2 separate regions of the Homo sapiens genome follow, and region 1 is linked to region 2. Evidence: promoter capture Hi-C in human tissues and cell types (Jung and others, 2019). All regions are on one chromosome and are shown on one strand. The core of a region is centred on a gene start or on the middle of the fragment in contact, and the rest is flanking DNA. Distances in the headings are between cores, read along the strand shown. Region 1 holds the start of ZNF771 (zinc finger protein 771). Region 2 holds the start of SETD1A (SET domain containing 1A, histone lysine methyltransferase).

The links. Contacts are between HindIII fragments. The study calls those that stand out against the background at their distance.
Region 1: the fragment with the promoter of ZNF771 here is called in contact with the fragment with the promoter of SETD1A in region 2 in 1 of the 25 tissues and cell types used here (aorta).

What each region holds. Positions count from the first base shown.
Region 1 is chr16:30,405,445-30,409,915 of GRCh38, forward strand. ZNF771 (zinc finger protein 771) reads left to right here and starts at 2,162. Exons shown (of 3, transcript NM_001142305.2): 1 at 2,162-2,220; 2 at 2,601-2,750. The coding sequence starts at 2,610. RefSeq lists silencers at 1,886-2,065, 2,088-2,297, 4,132-4,221. The HindIII fragment of the contact is 10,608 bases long and covers 696-4,471 here.
Region 2 is chr16:30,955,110-30,960,328 of GRCh38, forward strand. SETD1A (SET domain containing 1A, histone lysine methyltransferase) reads left to right here and starts at 2,645. Exons shown (of 19, transcript NM_014712.3): 1 at 2,645-2,855; 2 at 3,608-3,772; 3 at 3,982-4,077. The coding sequence starts at 3,623. RefSeq lists enhancers at 1,953-2,716, 2,174-2,303 and silencers at 2,904-3,123, 3,264-3,353. The HindIII fragment of the contact is 8,587 bases long and covers 1,728-5,219 here.

The DNA.
Region 1 (4,471 bases), core at 912-3,411, 550 kb before region 2:
AGCCTGTAATTCCAGCACTTTGGGAGGCCAAGGTGGGTGGATCACGAGGTCAGGGGTTTGAGACCAGCCTGGCCAAGATGGTGAAACCCCGTCTCTACAAAAAATACAAAAATAGCCCGGTGTGGTGGTGTGTGCCTGTAATCCTAGCTACTTGGGAGGCTGAGGCAGGAGAATCACTTGAACCTGGGAAGCGGAGGTTGCAGTGAGCCTAGACTGTGCTATTGCACTCCAACCTGGGCGACAGAGCAAGACTCCATCTCAAAAAAAAAAAAAAAAAAAAAAAAAAACTCAGAGAATGAATGCAAAGTGGCTTTTGGGGATCCTGTGTGTGAGTATCCAGGCATTTGACCCCTTCTCCCAGCTCTGGGAAAGAGCCAGTTTTATAACTTCATTCCTGAGAGGTAATTTGGTGCAATAGAAGAGCACAAGCTTTGAATCTGCTGCTTGCCAGCTGTGTGACTTTGAGCAAATTACTTAACTTGTCTAAGCTTCCGTTTCTTCTTTTGTCCAATGGAGATATTATTGATCCCAACAGGGCTGTTGTAAAGAGACAACATAGAACTTGTAAGCACTTACTGAATGTTATTTCTGTTTTCCTTCATGATTTCTGAATCTTAGTTGCCCCATTCATAAAATGGGAAAATTAGATATCTGCTTTTTCAAGGGAAGTGGCTGTTTTTCAAAGGAAGTGGCATTTGTTTATTCCACTAAAAAAAAATCTATTTTTATATGAAATATCCCAATTTAATTTTTTTTTTCTTGAGACGGAGTTTCGCTCTTGTTGCCTAGGCTGGAGACCAATGGCATGATCTCGGCTCACTGCAACCACTGCCTCCCCAGTTCAAGCAATTCTCGTGCCTCAGCCTCTCGAGTAGCTGGGATTACAGGCATGCACCACCAAGCTTGGCTAATTTTTGTATTTTTAGTAGAGACGGGGTTTCACCATGTTGGTTAGGCTGGTCTCGAAATCCTGACCTCAAGTGATCCACCGGCCTCCGCCTCCCAAAGTGCTGGGATTACAGGCATGAGCCACCGCGCCCGGCTTTGAAACGATTTTTTTTTTTTTTTTTTTTTTTTTTTTTTGAGACGGAGTCTCGCTCTGTCGCCCAGGCTGGAGCGCAGTGGCGCGATCTCGGCTAACTGCAAGCTCGCCTCCCGGGTTCACGCCATTCTCCTGTCTCAGCCTCCCGAGTAGCTGGCACTACAGGTGCCCGCCACCACGCCCAGCTAATTTTTTGTATTTTGTTTAGTAGAGTCGGGGTTTCACCGTGTTAGCCAGGATGGTCTCTATCTCCTGACCTCGTGATCCGCCCGCCTCGGCCTCCTAAAGTGCTGGGATTACAGGCGTGAGCCGCCGTGCCCGTCCGAAAAGATTTTTTAAAAGTAAAAATACCCTAAGGGCCAAACAAGGTACCCCTGTGGACTGGATTTAGCTTTGGGCTGTTGTTCACCTAGGCTACTGATTGTCAGGGATGCTATGACATCCTTATCGTGTAACTTAGGCAAATCAGTTTACCTCCCTGAACTTCAGTGAGCTCATCTGTAAAATGGATCAGGACCCATCGTTATGCGGATCAAATGAGACCAGGTATGTAAGACGCTGAACAGCGCTGGCGCATGGTAAGCACCCCACGCATGACGCGACAGCGGTAGCTTGGGTGGATGTTGAATTGGTTAGGATGTATTCAAGGATATCCCAGAGGCCAGCGGAATAGGCGAAGCCGAGAAAGATGGAGAAAAGACGGCAGAGGAGATAAAGAGGGAATGGAAGAAGTGAGGAGGCAACAGGGTCCGCCCTCCAGGCGGGGCGCCAGGGAGAGGCCCAGGCCGGGGCGGGAGCGCACGTGGCCTATTTCGGGCGGAGCAGAGGCACTGGGCGCAGCGGAGACCTCCAAGCCGGCCCCAGGAGACGGGCCGCGAGGTTAGGTTGGAACTCGGCGGCAAGGACCTTGAACGCCGGGCTGGGGCGGCTCCAGGTGCTTGGGAGTCGGGGGACTGCGGAGGACGCCAAGTCTGAGCTCGCCGCCCTCTCCGAGCCGTTTGGGCCGGACGCCTGGGTCCTTCGGGCTCCGCCCCAGGGGGTGGGGCTATATGTTCGGACCAATGACCGGCCGTCCCTGCGGTCCCGCCCCCTCCCCGCCCCCGGAGCCGCGGCCTCGCTGAGTGCCCAGCCGCCCGGCGCCCAGGCCTGGGGCACCGCGAGTGCCGAACCTTCGGCTGGTGAGTGCGCACCCCCTCCCCGGGGTTTCCGCCCCGATCCCGCCTCCAGCCCGTGCCCCAGAGCTCCAGGTCGCCGACCCGGGCCCTGGGGAGTGACTCAGCGCAAGGATGGTGGCGACTTGCGGGGGCTGGAGATTCGAACTGTTCAAGGCCTTGAATGCTGGGATGAGTGGGGTGAACGCGAGCCCTCGGAGCTGGTCCCGGGGCTGTGCCAGAGCGTGGGGCCGGGCTGGGGTGGACGGGAGAGGACCAGATTCGGAGACCAGGGCAGGGCGGGAGAAGCCACGGCTGCACTGCCTTGCTGGGCCAGGGCCACGGTGGGCGGGGGGGGGGGTGGGGGGGGGCGGGTCCTGAGCTTCTGATCCAGCTCCCCGCCTCAGGACACCAAGATGCCTGGCGAACAGCAGGCAGAGGAAGAGGAGGAGGAAGAGATGCAGGAGGAGATGGTGCTGCTGGTGAAGGGTGAGGAGGATGAGGGTGAGGAGAAGTATGAGGTGGTGAAACTCAAGATCCCCATGGACAACAAGGAGGTATGTGTCACACACACCCTGGGGCACACTGTCCCCAAACCTGGTCCAGGCCCAGCCTCCCTCAGATAGAAGCCAGGGATCTTGCCCCTACTTTTCCCAGAATCTCGGATCTAAAACCTCAGGATTGGCCCATCCTTCTGCCCTACTGCCTGGGCTTCCATCATACAAAAGTCACGCCTACTGTCCCAGGCTTCCTGCTGGGTGCAGGAGATTAAACTCCGTCCTTGGATCCCCCATGGAGCTTGATGTTAGACTGAAGGGTAACCACACAGTTAGAATCCCGTGTGATGGCTGCAGGTACAGGGGGATGATGAAGCCTAGAAGTGGGAACTTAACTCAGATTTAGAGGTTGGGGAAAGGTCAGGTTAGTTCAACAGCAACAGTAACAATAGCTAACCCTTGCCTAGCATTTTCTATGTGCCAGGCACTGTTCTAAGCACCTCGATTCTATGATGTCGGTAGCATTTATTCCATTTTACAGATGAGGAGACTGAGGCCCAGGGCAGTTTGGTAACTGGCCACAGGTCTCAAAGTAAAAGGATGGCTTATGTGAGACTAGTAGGAGTCTGGGGTCAGAAGTGGGGTGATGGACCCAGTCAGAGGAAATGGCTCTTTTATTATTACTGTTGTTATTGTTTGAGACAGGGTCTCATTCAGTCACCCAAGCTGTAGTGCAGTACAGCTCACTGCAGCCTTGACTTCCCTGGGCTCAGGTGATCCTCCCACCTCAGCCTCCCAAGTAGCTGGGACTACAGGCATGCACCACTACACCTGGCTAATTTTTTTTTGTTTTGTTTTGAGACAGAGTTTCGCTCTGTTGCCCAGGCTGGAGTGCAGTGGCGTGATCTCGGCTCACTGCAGCCTCCACCTCCCGGGTTCAAGTGGTTCTCCTACCTCAGCCTCCCAAGAAGCTGGGATTACAGGCATGCACCACCACGCCCGGCTAATTTTTTGTATTTTCAGTAGAGTTGGGGTTTTGCCATGTTGGCCAGACTGGTCTCAAACTCCTGAGTTCAGGTGATCCTCCCACCTCAGCCTCCCAAAGTGCTGGGATTATAGGTGTGAGCCACCGTATCCAGCCAGAAATGGCCCTTATAGAGGCTCAGACGAGTGAGTAGTGCACTGCAGCAGTGAGGGTGGGTGGTTCGGTCATGCTGTAGTGTGGATGAGTGGGGGTGGTTGGCAGGCCACACAGGGAGTCTGGCTTTTATTCTGAGGGTATTTGAAGGTTTTGAGATCAGAATATGAGTTAAATTTCACCCCCTGGAGACCCTAACTGCCACCAGATACGTTTCCGCTTCTCAGAACCCCAGAGGATTCTGTCTGCCCCCAGCCTGAGCAGCCCTGAGTACCAGCAGAGGGCTTTGGCCCCAGGGACCCAGCTTGCAGGGGCCGGGACTCTGATTCTTCCTGCCCAGGAGCCAGTTCCCAGGGAAAGAATGCTCTGCTGCCCCCTAGTGGGCCTGCTGGGTGCTGGGGGAGGGGACTAGCTCCTTAGGCCTCTGGATAGTCTAATAACTATCTGGTTGTGTTTGTTGCGGGCCCCCTTCGCCCATTATCCAGCTCTGCCTGCCTCTTCTGGCCCTGCGATTGCCTGATCTCCACCTTTGGCCTCTAAGTTACAAACACAGGCTCCAGAGCTTAGGGTGGACTTCCAGCTCCATCATTTACCCGCTGTGTGACCTTGGCCAAGTTTCCTAACCGCTCCACGCCTCAGTTTC
Region 2 (5,219 bases), core at 1,395-3,894:
GTTATTCCAAGGCTACAGGCTTTGAACTCTTGTCCCTGAGTTCAGAGTCTCTATCTCTTCCACTGAGTATTTATTTATTTAGAGACGGAGTCTTGTGTTGCCCAGGCTGGAGTGCAGTGGTGCGATCTCAGCTCACTGTAACCTCCGTCTCCCAAGTTCAAGCAATTCTCCTGCCTCAGCCACCAGAGTAGCTGGGATTACAAGTGTGTGCCGCCACACCCGGCTAATTTTTATATTTTTATTAGAGACGGGGTTTCGCCATGTTGGCCAAGCTGGTCTCAAACTTCTGACCTCAGGTGATCCACCTGTCTGGCCTCCCGAAGTGCTGGGATTACAGGCATGAGCCACCACACCCAGCCCTCCCTGAGTGTTTAGTATAAGCACTCTTTTTTTTTTTTTTTTTTTGAGACCGAGTCTCGCTCTGTCTTGCACTGTCGCCCAGGCTGGAGTACAGTGGCATGATCTCGGCTCACTGCAAGCGCCGCCTCCTGGGTTCACGCCATTCTCCTGCCTCAGCCTCCCAAGTAGCTGGGATTACAGGTGCCCACCACCACGCTCGGCTAATTTTGTTTTTGTATTTTTAGTAGAGATGGGGTTTCACCGTGTTAGCCAGGATGGTCTTGATCTCCTGACCTAGTGATCCCCCTGCCTTGGCCTCCCAAAGTGCTGGGATTACAGGTGTGAGCCATCGCGCCCAGCCGAGACAGTCTCACTCTTTTGCCCAGGCTGGAGTGCAGCTGTGCAATCTTGGCTCACTGCAGCTTTGACCTCCCAGGCTCATGAGCCTCCCACCTCAGCCTCCCAAATAGCTGGCACCACAGGACGTCCCACCAACCCAGCTAATTAATTTTTTTTTTTTTTTGTAGAGAGGAGGGTCTCACTATGTTGTCCAGGCTGGTCTTGAACTCCTGGGCTCAAGTGATCCTCCCACCTTGGCCTCCCAAAGTGCTGAGATTACAAGTGTTAGCCACTGCACCTGGCCTCAAGTTTCTTTCTTGAGCAACTACCACATACTAGGGGACTTTCATAGGTTATCTTATTTAACTCTCACAACACCTTAAGCGTTAAGTCTTTATCATTTTCATTTCAGAGATAAGGAAACAGGCCCAAGAAGGCTGAAGATCTTGCCCAAAACCACACAGCTAGTCCATGAAACTGAACTTGGACTATCTACCCCTCACACGGGAATCTCTCTTTGATTTGAGAAAAGGAACCAGTGCCTTTCAACTGGAACAGAAAGGAATCTGATCTCAACACCTATGCCTCCACGTAAATTATTTTTTTCAGCCTTATTTCCCTCAAAATTGTAGAGTCCTAATCTTCTTCTATCTTGTGGTGTGAGACCTTGGATAAGTCTCCCTTCCACCTTTTCCTATTACTTAAAATGGTGAATTTGCATAAACCAGGCTCTAAGGGTCTTTTCTGCACTGTTCGGATGTGTACAAATTGACATCCAAGTTTAAAGGAAGACTCTGAAACTTAGGTCAATGACTTGCCCAAGGCCATATAGCGAGGGCCTGATGTACACATATCAGGAGCTTGGGGCATCCTCAGCTCAGGAAAAGGGACCTCCTGGGAGTGCCTGCGCCCACACGGGATCAAAACGGTGCCCAGCCTTCAGAAACCTCAGCCCGAGTTCCAGGGGTAGGCCTGGGCCGCTGCTGCCCTTGTGCGGAGGCATCCCGTGAGCATAGGGCGCCATAGCCAAAGAAGCGGGCAGTGGGACCATGACGCCAGGAGGACACACCAGTCCAGTCCCGTTCCTGTAGGACCTCGTTTATTATTACAAGGCCCATTTAAGGGCACTTAGGCCCCACTAGGCTCATCAGAAAACCTTGAGGCGGTCCCTGGATTTAACCACTAATGGTGGGTTTGAGTACGGCAAAGTAGGGCACCTTCTACAGGCCTCACTCTCCCCATCTGGCAAATGGGCATCCTAAGCAGCCAGACACCCAAGGGCAATAACGGGAAGGAAAGGTACCCTGCATTTATGTGCGAGGCGGGGCAAACCGCCTGAGTCACCGCTCACGGTTGTGTTTTTCCACCTCCCGGCCGTCCCTCCCATCCGGGTGAGTCCTCGTGGGTCCTCCCGGAGGCGCCCCCTAGTCCCAGGCTCTGCACGCCCTGGCCCCGCCCCTTGACTCGGCCCCGCCCACAGCGGAATCCGCAGATTCGCCAGGTCGGATCCTCAGAATTCCTCGGGTCCCTCGATACTCGGCTGAAAATTCTCATCGGACTCTGAGAGGAGCGCTGGGCTGGAGGCATTTTCCCCAGGGACAGAAGCGGGCTATTCTCTCACTTGGGCCAGTAAGAAAAATCCAAAAAAAGTTGTCGACTCTGCCAGCAGGGATTGGCTAACGGGCCGTTATTTTCTTGACTCCACCAAGGCGGATGAAGGGGAGGCTACGGCTGAGGCCGGGAACAGTGGCGAATCTGCAGCCTCTCAGAATTTGGCAGTGCAAGGAAGGGACGGGGAAGAGAAGCAAAGCGGCGCGCATCCTGTCCAGCGATTCGCCCCGCCCGCCCGGTGAATCTGCGTCTGCAGAACGCGCCACTGAAGGTTCCCCAGCGCTGGCTGGCCTCCTCCCCTCCGCCCCGCCCCTTTTCCTCAGGGACTAGTCGCAGCTTTCGTCGCCGCCGATTCGTCAAGGTCCCGGGCCGCAGCATCTAGATCGTCGTGGCGAAGCCGACTCTCCGGGGGATGCGGCCAATCTCCAAGCTCCCTGGGCCGCAACTTCCGAGCCTCCCAGGGCGCCGGCCGAGGCGAAGCCGCTACCCTCGGCCCCGTGGGTCCCCCGGCAGCGCCTGTGGCGAAAGTGCGAATGCAGACCCTGTGCCCGCTGGGCCTCGCGCAGGTGGCAGTGGTGTTTGGTGCGCGCGCCGGGGAGGTGGTGGTGGGGGGGCGCCGCCGCCGCCACCGCTGCGGGGCCGGGTCTCGCGCTGCCGCTGCCGCCGCCTCGCGCCGCTGAGGTGCCGCGCGAGGTGGGGGGAGGGGGAGCCGCTCGCCGGGAGCGGGTGAGTGGGGCCGCGCGGCGCGCGTGCGCGGAGACCTGCTGGGGGGGGTGCAGAACGCGCCGGGGCGGGAGGAGAGGGCAGCGGTGCACGTTCCCCCCACCCCCCCGCCCGGATTCGGGGTCGAAGCCGGGTCTCGGGCTCGGTCTCGCGGTGTTTCCAACGCCCCGAAGAGGTGCCACCTTTCGGCCGGAGGATCGGGGCGCGGGGAGGAGAGCGGGTGTGTGGGAGCCGTGGCCGGGCTCGGCCCGGGCCGCTGGCCGGTGAGGAGGCGGGAGGGGGCGGGGCCTGCAGGGGGCGGGGGAGGGGTCTTGCTCCGAGGCCAAGTGGGGCGCGCGCTAGGGAGAGCGGGAAGGTAAGGGGGCTCGAGACGGGCCTGGGGGCCTGACAGTAGAGTTGGGAGGTGGAAAGAGGCTGGGTTGTTGTGGCGAAACAGAGGGTACTTGGGGGAGAATCCGGGGGAGCCCCGGGTCAGGGTGAGGGTTGGAAACTGGAGTGATGGGAGAACCTGGAATCGGGGCTAGCCAATGAGGAAAGGCAGGGGAGTCAGGCCCCAAGTCCTGATCCTTCTTGCGTGTCCCTCTTCCCCTAACAGTGTAAATGAGCAAAGATGGATCAGGAAGGTGGGGGAGATGGGCAGAAGGCCCCGAGCTTCCAGTGGCGGAACTACAAGCTCATCGTGGATCCTGCCTTGGACCCTGCCCTGCGCAGGCCTTCTCAGAAGGTGTACCGCTATGATGGAGTCCACTTCAGTGTCAACGTGAGTGCCCGGGTCTTTGGTTGCCATCCGGGGAGCTCCAGGCGCCCGTCCTCTGTGATTCTGTTCAGCACCTAGAACGGTAGCCTGCCTTCTTGAAAGTGGGCAGTTGGACCCAGCTCTTCTGCATGTGTGTGTCCAGATGGGCTGCTTGGAGCTCCCTAGCCTGGATTCACCCTGAGCTCTCTTTCTGCTGCTGCTTTCCTTCCTAGGACTCAAAGTATATACCAGTCGAAGACCTCCAAGACCCCCGTTGCCATGTCAGGTCCAAAAACAGAGACTTTTCCCTCCCAGTCCCTAAGTTTAAGGTAAGTGTCTGCTGGGCTCCTGGTGTGGTAGTCCTAAGAGGGTGTGGAGGATGCGTCTTGGCACTATAGCTGAATAAAAGGGTTTCCAATGAAAGGATCTCAGCCAGATCTAGCAACCTCTGAGGCTGTGAGACTCAGTTGTTTTGGATAGGAGGTACACTTAATCTTCCAGAAAGGTGCAGGTCAGGTGTCCTAAGTGTATCCCTGGTGGCTGGGGTGTCGACTTCTTGAAGGGTGAGGTAAAGACTCTTTAGCTGCTATACCTATCACTGTATATTCGTAGACAGTGCATCATAGCACACAAGAGTGGGATCTCCCAGTTCCTTGACAGTCAAGGGGAGTGACAAGGCCACTGCCTACCTGGGTAGCACTATTCCCCGCCTCTCATTTGGCGATGTCATTTCCCTCTTGTTTCCTTCGAGGACTCCTATTCTCCACCCTAGACAAGATATTCTTCAGGCCTTGAACTGGGCCTGGAACACTGGTGGTTCTTCATTTCCTTCTCTGATTCTTTATTCTTCCTTTCTAAATAAATTGTTTGTGGGGTCCCTTCATTCTTCTTCTTCTTTTTTTTTTTTTTACTTTGTACACTTCACTTGGACAATCTCTTTCACACCCACAGCTTCAACTATTACCTAAATGTTGATGACTTCCAAGTATCTGTTTCCAGCCAACATCTCTAGGCTTGTATGCCTGGTAGGGGGACAGTTTCATTTGGAGGCCACACATGTTTCAGATTTAAGGGATTTAAAACAAATTATCTACCTCCTTAACCTACCTTTTTCATTTTCCCTCTACTCATATGTGGCAGTACCATCGACTCAGCTGTACAGCCTGGCAGCCTGTGATTCTCTCCTTTTCTCTCTCAGTTGGTCACCGAATCCTCCTGGCTCTTTTCTTTTTTATTCTTCATCTTTCTATTCTCATTGCCACTTAATGTAGACCTTGGTATTCATTTCACCTGGTCTCCTTGCCTTCGTTCTTGCCTCAGTTTCTCCTCTGCCTTGCTGTCATTTGTCTCTTTGGCTTCACTACGCTGCTGTTTTCCTTTTGTTGCCAAGTCCATGTTTTGGGACACTGACATGTATGGTTATTGACCTGGCCAAGCCTTATCCTCCGCCTTGACACCACACCCCTGTGTT